Linked DNA regions of Homo sapiens: region 1 is linked to region 2. The links are contacts of gene promoters, found by promoter capture Hi-C in human tissues and cell types (Jung and others, 2019). All regions are on one chromosome and are shown on one strand. The core of a region is centred on a gene start or on the middle of the fragment in contact, and the rest is flanking DNA. Distances in the headings are between cores, read along the strand shown. Region 1 overlaps LOC124906253 (keratinocyte proline-rich protein-like). Region 2 holds the start of MUC4 (mucin 4, cell surface associated).

Region 1 (3,836 bases), core at 769-3,268, 100 kb before region 2:
GCCTCAAGCAATCCTCTTGCCTTGAAGCTTCCCAGAATGTTGAGATTACAGGCGTGAGCCACTGTGCCTGGCCAAAGTACTTTTTCATCACCTATAACCAGGCAAATCAAGACAGGGCCATATACAATCCCCATATGTAAATTCCCAAGATTCACTAACATACTTTTCTCGCGTCTGGGTTTGTTGCAGCGCAGCTTCAGCATGGTATTTATGTGTGTATTAGAGGGTTCAGGAGTCGGGTGAGAGAGAGAGTAGAGTAGAGTAGGCGCCCTGGATTTCTATCTTGGTCATGGAGATTCTAATCCAATTGCAGTCACTACCCTTCAATTGCTGCGTGTCCGTGGGTCACCCGCTCTACCCTTCAATTTCTGCGTGTCCGTGGGTCACCCGCTCTACCCTTCAGTTGCTGTGTGTCCGTGGGTCACCCGCTCTACTCTTCAGTTGCTGTGTGTTCGTGGGTCACCCGCTCTACTCTTCAGTTGCTGTGTGTCTGTGGGTCACCTGCTCTATCCTTTAATTGCTGTGAGTCCGTGGGTCACCTGCTCTGTCCTTTAATTGCTGTGAGTCCGTGGGTCACCCGCTCTACCCTTCAATTGCTGTAAGTCCATGGGTCACCTGCTCTATCCTTCAATTGCTGTTTGTGGGTCACTCACTCTACCTCTCAGAGCCTGTGTCCTCACTGCTAAGTGAGTGTTAGACTTGATGTTCTCTAAGGCCTTTTCAGCTGTAACATAAAATCCCTCTCCCATTGAGAATGTACATTCCCTCCTTCAAACTTCACACCCAGATTCAATTCTACCCTTCAAATTTTTATTTATTTATTTATTTAATTATTTATTTTTGAGATGGAGTCTCGCTCTGTTGCCCAGGCTGGAGTGCAATGGCGCAAACTCGGCTCACTGCAACCTCTGCCTCCAGGGTTCAAGTGATTCTCAAGCCTCAGCCTCCTGAGTAGCTGGGACTACAGGCGCCCGCCACCACATCCAGCTGATTTTTGTATTTTTAGTAGAGATGAGGTTTCACCATGTTGGCCAGGTGGGTCTCAAACTCCTGACCTCAGGTGATCTGCCCATCTCAGCCTCCCAAAGTGCTGGGATTACAGGCGTGAGCTACTACACCCGGTCTAAATTTATTCTTTTATAATCGTTTCCTCTGCATCCCAGTAACAAAGAAGTGCTGTTGGTGAGACCGTAGAAGCTGTACTCACCTCGTAGGTGCCCTGCGTTCCCCTGCGAGTGTTCCTCTGGGCCTAACCACCCGGTCACCTTCTTTGGGTCTGCTGATAGTGAGGTGTCTTGGATAACTACAGCAAATGTTCCAGGAACGTCCCTTTTTTCTATGGACAAGCCCGTCTCTGCAGAAGTTACAGATTGGCATCCTTGCTGAGGGTGACTTGTATCTGTGTCTTCACCTGCTTCCCTGATTTCTGACATACTGACTGCCTTGTCTTCTAGGCATGGAATTTCCTTGAGTTTTAACCCACAGACCTATCTTCGCTGTGGCTTTTTGTGTGTTTTGGCTTTTTGGCCCTTCTAGACCCAACTTCCAACTCTGCTACTGTGGTGAATCATCCCCTAAGGGCTGCTGTGATTTGTAGAACACTCACACCTGTGGGGCACTGAGCGATGCTGCGTGGAACCGGGGAGGAATGCTGAGTGGAACCGGGGAGCGATGCTGCGTGGAACTGGGGAGCAATGTGGAGTTCTTGAGTAAGGGAGAGACATGATGAAATCGATGTTTTAGGAAGATTAACAGGGAATTAACCAGGAGGTACAGGGACTGAAGTCGGCAAGGTCATCTACACAATGTTTGCTGTAATCATGCCATTCAAGGGTGTGAATAGCATCGCATTATCTTGTGTAATTCTTACAGTCTCCCGGTGAGGGTTCATGTCTTACGTGCAGAGGCTAATGGAAGGATCTGATCCCACTCACATGGAAGTCACCTCATGGTTAGGGGTCTGGCATCCCAAAGGTACTTGATCACTGTTTGAAAAATGAACGTGGGGAAGCTAGGACTTGGACACAGGTTCTTTCTATGTGGAATAAAGTGGTAGCTGAGAGGAAGTGAGTCGAGAGAGGAGGCAGAAGGGTGGAGCCCTGAGGTATCTGGGGCTGAAGTAGGTGTATTAGGTGCTGAAGGAGGAGATGGGTAAAGGGGGCTGCCAAGAACCTGAATCTGCTTTCTGGACAAATGAGAGAGCCAGGGGAGAAGGGAAGGAGAGCTGGAACTGAGAGTTTGGGTTCTGTTGCTACCTCCTAAGATGGAGCAAGTCTGGGTGTCCACTCAACATCAGTGCGCAGGCAGGCAGCCGCAGATGCAGGGAGCTTGGTACCTGGGGGCCTCGCTGGCTCAGCTGTGGGAGGGGAGTCGGGGAGTGGCAGTGGGTGGAAACGATCTTACCAAGCTGGAGAGGGTAGCCAAGAACGGAGCAGGTATGGGCTTGCCTGGGAGGCTCACTATTTTAGCAGAAGGAGGAAGAACAGTTAGCTAAAGACTGTGCAGTGTCTGCACTGCAAATTGGATTTGAGCAAAGGAGAGAGCAGAAGAAAGGTGCAAGAGTGACACAGTACCTCACCATTTAAAGACAAGCCTTGACTGCAACATTTCCCACACTTAGTATGGTGGGCTCCAGGGGAGGCCAGATTTCAGGGAGTTAAAGGAGTAGGTGAAGAATCAAAGGAGCCCGTCCTTCATATGATTGGTCTTGACTCCTCCACTGGAAGTTTGTTTATTTAATTTATTTATTTCTGAGACAACGCCTCTCTCTGTTGCCCAGGGCTGGAGTGCAGTGGTGTGATGGTACCCCCCACTGCAGCCTCGAACTGCTGGCCTCAAACAATCCTCCCACCTCAGCCTCCTGAGTAGCTGAGATGACAGGTGCACACCACCACGACTGACTAATTTTTAAATTTTTTGTAGGTAGGGAGTCTTGCCATGTTGCCCAAGCTGGTCTCTAGCTCCTGGCCTCAAGCAGCCTCCCACCTGGGCCTCCCAAAATACTGGGATTATAGGTGTAAACCACCATGCCTAGCCTCTTTTTTAAAAATTAATTTCTTTTTGGCCCGGCGCAGTGGCTCACGCCTGTAATCCCAGCACTTTGGGAGGCCGAGGCGGGAGGATCACTTGAGCTTAGGAATTCAAGACCAGCCTGGCCAACATGGTGGAACCCCGTCTCTACTAAAATACAAAAATTAGCCGGGCGTGGTGGCGCATGCCTGTAATCCCAGCTACTGGGGAGGCTGAGGCAGGAGAATCGCTTGAACCCAAGAGTCAGAGGTTGCAGTGAGCCGAGATCATGCCACTGCACTCCAGCGTGGGTGACAGAACGAGACACTGTCTCAAAAAAATTAATTTTTTTAGAGACAGGGTGTCCCTCTGTCACCCAGGCTGGAGTGCAGATCATAGCTCATTGCAGCCTTGAACTCCTACACTCAACTGATCCTGCTGCTTCTGCCTCCCAAGTGCTGGGATTCCAACTGTGAGCCACTGCGCCGCACTAGAAATTCCTTGATTCTGTGTATGGGGCCACATCTGGCATGACTGTGCCCGAACACCAACCAATCAGGAGTAACTGAACTCACTGGTCCATTTGTTGGTTACCAACCACAACTCTAGGTGTCCACCAGGGGGCACCAGAGCGCAGGGCTCCATGAGGCTCTGTTTCAGAAGAGCCCATGATGACCTCAGGGTTTGTCATCTCTCGGCTCATTTGGCTCTTGCTGTGATTGGGCAGAGGGGGCAGGTGTGTGGGAGCAGCTGGCAGTGCCTCCTCCCAACGGCCTAGTAAGGTTTTGAAAACTGAATTGCTCGGGGGCATGTGAGCACAGCCCCCT
Region 2 (4,159 bases), core at 769-3,268:
CCTGGATGCTCCTTTCTCCTCTAGAGATGGAAAACTGTTGTCCTGAAAGCGTCACCAAACAAAACCTGTGGAAAGGTAATGGGGGGACCCACGAGCAAGAGCTGACAGAAAAATGACCACGGGCCGGGTGCAGTGGCTCACGCCTGTAATCCCAGCACTTTGGGAGGCCAAGGCGGGCGGATCATCTGAGTTCAGGGGTTCGAGACCAACCTGGCCAACATGGTGAAACCTCGTCCCTACTAAAAATACAAAAAAAATTAGCCGGGCGTGGTGGCAGGTGCCTGTAGTCCCAGCTACTAGGGAGGCTGAGGCAGGGGAATGGCGTGAACCCGGGAGGCGGAGCTTGCAGTGAGCTGAGATGGTGCCACTGCACTCCAGCCTGGGCGACAGAGCAAGACTCCATCTCAAAAAAAAAAAAAAGTGCAAAATGATCACGAAGGCCAAGCTGGGCCTTGGTGTCTGCGAATTCCCTGCAGTAGGTCCCTCCTGCTGCCCCGTCCAGGCGCCCACAGGATGCTCCACATGACTCTTTACCTTTATGATTTTCTTACCTCCAGGAAAGAACAGGGTCAGCTCGTCCACCCAGAGCTGGAGGGACTGTTGGGGGACCACGCCACTTCCCCACGGTATCCGCATTATTATGGCGTGGCCCAGGCTTTGGCCTGGGGCCATGAACAGACTTTCAGCTTCTAGAAGCAAGTGGTCACAGGGCCTCCGTGACCCTCGGAGACAGCGCCACAGCGTCGGTTGCCTACTCCTTGCTGGACAAGGCTGGCTCTGCTTGGGAATGCAGAAACCCTGAGTCCTTGTCCTGGGCCCCACAGTGTCTGAGCATCGAAGGTCCCTGCTCTGGGACGAGTCACCCCACAGACACCCCACATTCGGGAATCAAGTCTTGAGGAATCAGAAGCAGAGATTCACACTGTGGCAAAGAGGGGAGCGGAGGTATCCCCGTTTTCCTTTGCAGAGAGCTACACCAACTGCCCTCTTCGTCTTTACAACCCTACTTGGGGTCCCTTTCCCTCCTCGCTTGTGCCTGTGAGTTCCAAGAGGTGGAACTGGGGTGAGCAGAGCCCCCAGGTCTCCAGGAGCAGCTCCACCTCCTCACAGGTTACAGTCGCTTCCTCCTACCGAGGTTCTGCCTTCAACCCACTGCCCATGCCAGCTCCCTCAGGCCAGTCTCCCAGACTGTCCCTGGCTCCCTGCACCCTGGCTCCAGCTCCCTGCCCTGGAAAGAAGAAGTCCACCATCTGGTGAGGGTCTGCCACGCATCTGGGGTCTGCCATGCGTCTGCACTGAGGTTCTGCCACGAGTCTGCACTGAGGTTCTGCCATGCGTCTGGAGTCTGCCACGCGTCTGGGGTCTGCCACGCGTCTGGAGTCTGCCATGGGTCTGGGGTCTGCCATGTGTCTGGGATCTGCCGTGCGTCTGGGGTCTGCCACGCATCTGCACTGAGGTTCTGCCACGCGTCTGGGGTCTGCCACGCGTCTGGGGTCTGCCACGCGTCTGGGGTCTGCCACGCGCCTGCACTGAGCAGATATTCCAAGCACACCACCCCTTTCCAAAAGACGGCATACAGTGCATTTCTGTTCCTGCCCCTCACCCACATGGTTCCCCGCTTCCCAATTCCTTGGGGTCTGCTTAAGTCTCACTCTCTTTCCCCCATTCATACAGCCCCAAGGTCGCTCCCTCTGGGGCCCTTTCTTCCCCATTCTTCCCAGCAGCCCAAAGCTCTGGTGGGACAGGGGCAGCCCCTGGGGAGGGAGGAGAGGACCCAGGAACCCGGCTAGGAGGGTGGCCCACCCATTTCCAGTGTGACCTGTTCCCATTCCCCCATGTCTCCTCCCATCCCTCCCGCCACTCAGCTCAGGCTGATGAGAAGCAGAGCAACGGGTGTATCGGTGTTTTCTTTCCTGGTGGGGTAGTGGGGTGGGGCTGAGGAGAGAAAAGGGTGATTAGCGTGGGGCCCCGCCCTCTTTTGTCCTCTTCCCAGGTTCCCTGGCCCCTTCGGAGAAACGCACTTGGTTCGGGCCAGCCGCCTGAGGGGACGGGCTCACGTCTGCTCCTCACACTGCAGCTGCTGGGCCGTGGAGCTTCCCCAGGGAGCCAGGGGGACTTTTGCCGCAGCCATGAAGGGGGCACGCTGGAGGAGGGTCCCCTGGGTGTCCCTGAGCTGCCTGTGTCTCTGCCTCCTTCCGCATGTGGTCCCAGGTAAGTGATGGAGACAGCAGATGAGGCTGGCTGCGGGGAGCACTTGGGGGAGGTGGGAGCTGTCAGAGAAAGAGGTCCGGGGAGACAGAGAGAGAGAGAGAGAGAATAGGGGAAAGGGAGACAGCGAAGAGGAAGAGAAGGGAGAGAAAAAGAGGGAGAGGGAAAGGAGAAAGAGATGAATGGGACAACATGGGGGGAAGGTGGAGAGAGACCCAGAGAGGGAAAGAAGAGGAAGAGAAGAGGGAGAGAGAAAGAAGAGTGGAGGCCGTGCGCGGTGGCTCATGCCTGTAATCCCAGCACTTTCGGAGGCCAAGGCAGGAGATCACCTGAGGTCAGGAGTTCGAGACCAGCCTGGCCGACATGGTGAAACCCCGTCTCTACTAAATATACAAAAATTAGCCGGTCGTGGTGGGCCCCACCTGTAATTCCAGCTACTCAGGAGTCTGAGGCAGGAGAATCACTTGAACCTGGGAGGTGGAGGTTGCAGTGAGCCAAGATCGCGCCACTGCACTCCAGCCTGGGAGAGAGAGCGAGACTCTGTCTCAAAATAAATAAATAAATAAATAAATAAATAAATAAATAAATAAATATAAAATAAAATAAAAAATAAGAAGAGGAGAAAAGTGGGGAAGAGGAGGCATGAACTGGCAGATACGGGACAAGATCTGAGGGGAAAGACAGAGGGAGAATGCTCGAAAGAGAGAGAAAAGAGAACAGAGGGCCAGAGAGCAGCCCGGCGATGTCTGGAAGGATCCATGGTGAGAGCCCAGGCTTACTCGCAGAGAGAAAGACAGGCAGAGCCAGAGCAAGAGGAACAGAGTCAAGGAGAAAGATGTACACCCTTGTGTACAGAGCTGGGGGTAGAGGGGATGCCAGGAAAGCTGGGTGATGGAGACGGAAGAAAACTCATGTAAAGCTGCAGGGTGAGAGGACGAGACAGGTGAGACGCAGACAAACTGAGGACCCTGGGAATGGAGAGAGGAGAAGATCGGGAGACAGCAGCAAGCAAGGGAAGCGACAAGGAGGAGAGGGGCAGGCCGGCCGGGAGGGTGGTGCGGAGGAGGCGGCCAGGGCGCAGAGGGCCGGGAGGTGCTGGCCGTGGGCTTCTTACCTCTGAGCTCGGGTTTAAAAGCCTCCATTTGGGTCACGGCCTTGCCTGGGGCTCGTAGCCCCGGCATTGGCCTTGGGCTCCTCCGTGTACAGAGCTGGGAGGGGAGGGATGCCAGGCCTGTGGGAGATGTTCCCTCGGGGGCCCCCGTCCTCTTCCCCACACTTTCCAGGCTGTCCCTCTGGCTTCAGGACCAAGTTTTATTCTGTGTTTCTGGGTGTCTGAGTCTTTGGGGGAGAGTCTGGGGTCCAGAGTTCAAGCTGGGGTTAGAGTCTCAGCTCCTGCCCTGCCTCTCAGCAGGCTAAGAACAGTCGCCGAGGGAAAATATTTCTTGGGCGCATATTTGAGGAGCTTCCTGGGAGTGAGTCAGAAGGCGAGTGCCGTTTAAAGGCTGCAAGAGAAGCCATGCTGGTGAAGCGGACCCTTCCACCTCGGGATGTTTCAGGACTAGGCTGAGGGCAAAGGAAACTGCCACCACCTCCCTACACCTCCCCACCCTCCAGCACCCCCACCCCACCCTGGCCACACAACCCCGCTCCAGTGCTCATCCCACCGTGAGGACGTGGAGGCCGGAAGGAGCCGCCACACGGCCCTGCCCTGCAGATGTGGTTGAAGGAGTCTCCACGGGAATCATGACTCCCAGAGCGAGGCTGGGGCTTGGGGCGCCGGGGAGGCAGCTTGGATTTAGGAGCCCCAGGGCCAAGTCTTTGCCGTGAACTGTTCTGGCCCCTGTGACCAGGCCCTGCCCCGTGTCTCCCCAGGGCCCCGGTCCCCTGTGTAAAAAGCAGTGGTGAACGGTTGGACCTCCTGACGCCCAAGTTCTTGAGTTTCCAAATCTGT

What was found. The method cuts DNA at HindIII sites, captures the fragments that hold promoters and counts their contacts. A contact is called where the count stands out against the background at its distance.
Region 1: a fragment that was not itself captured here is called in contact with the fragment with the promoter of MUC4 in region 2 in 2 of the 25 tissues and cell types used here (adrenal gland and psoas muscle).

Annotation. Positions count from the first base shown.
Region 1 is chr3:195,914,998-195,918,833 of GRCh38, reverse strand. The region is part of intron 3 of LOC124906253 (keratinocyte proline-rich protein-like); the gene reads left to right. Among named protein-coding and RNA genes, the nearest start is that of TNK2, 8.4 kb to the right of the region's middle. RefSeq lists a silencer at 3,777-3,826 and an enhancer at 3,428-3,836. The HindIII fragment of the contact is 6,786 bases long and covers 1-3,836 here.
Region 2 is chr3:195,809,788-195,813,946 of GRCh38, reverse strand. It overlaps MUC4 (mucin 4, cell surface associated), which reads left to right and starts at 2,018. Exons shown (of 25, transcript NM_018406.7): 1 at 2,018-2,211. The coding sequence starts at 2,130. RefSeq lists an enhancer at 3,758-4,159. The HindIII fragment of the contact is 26,053 bases long and covers 1-4,159 here.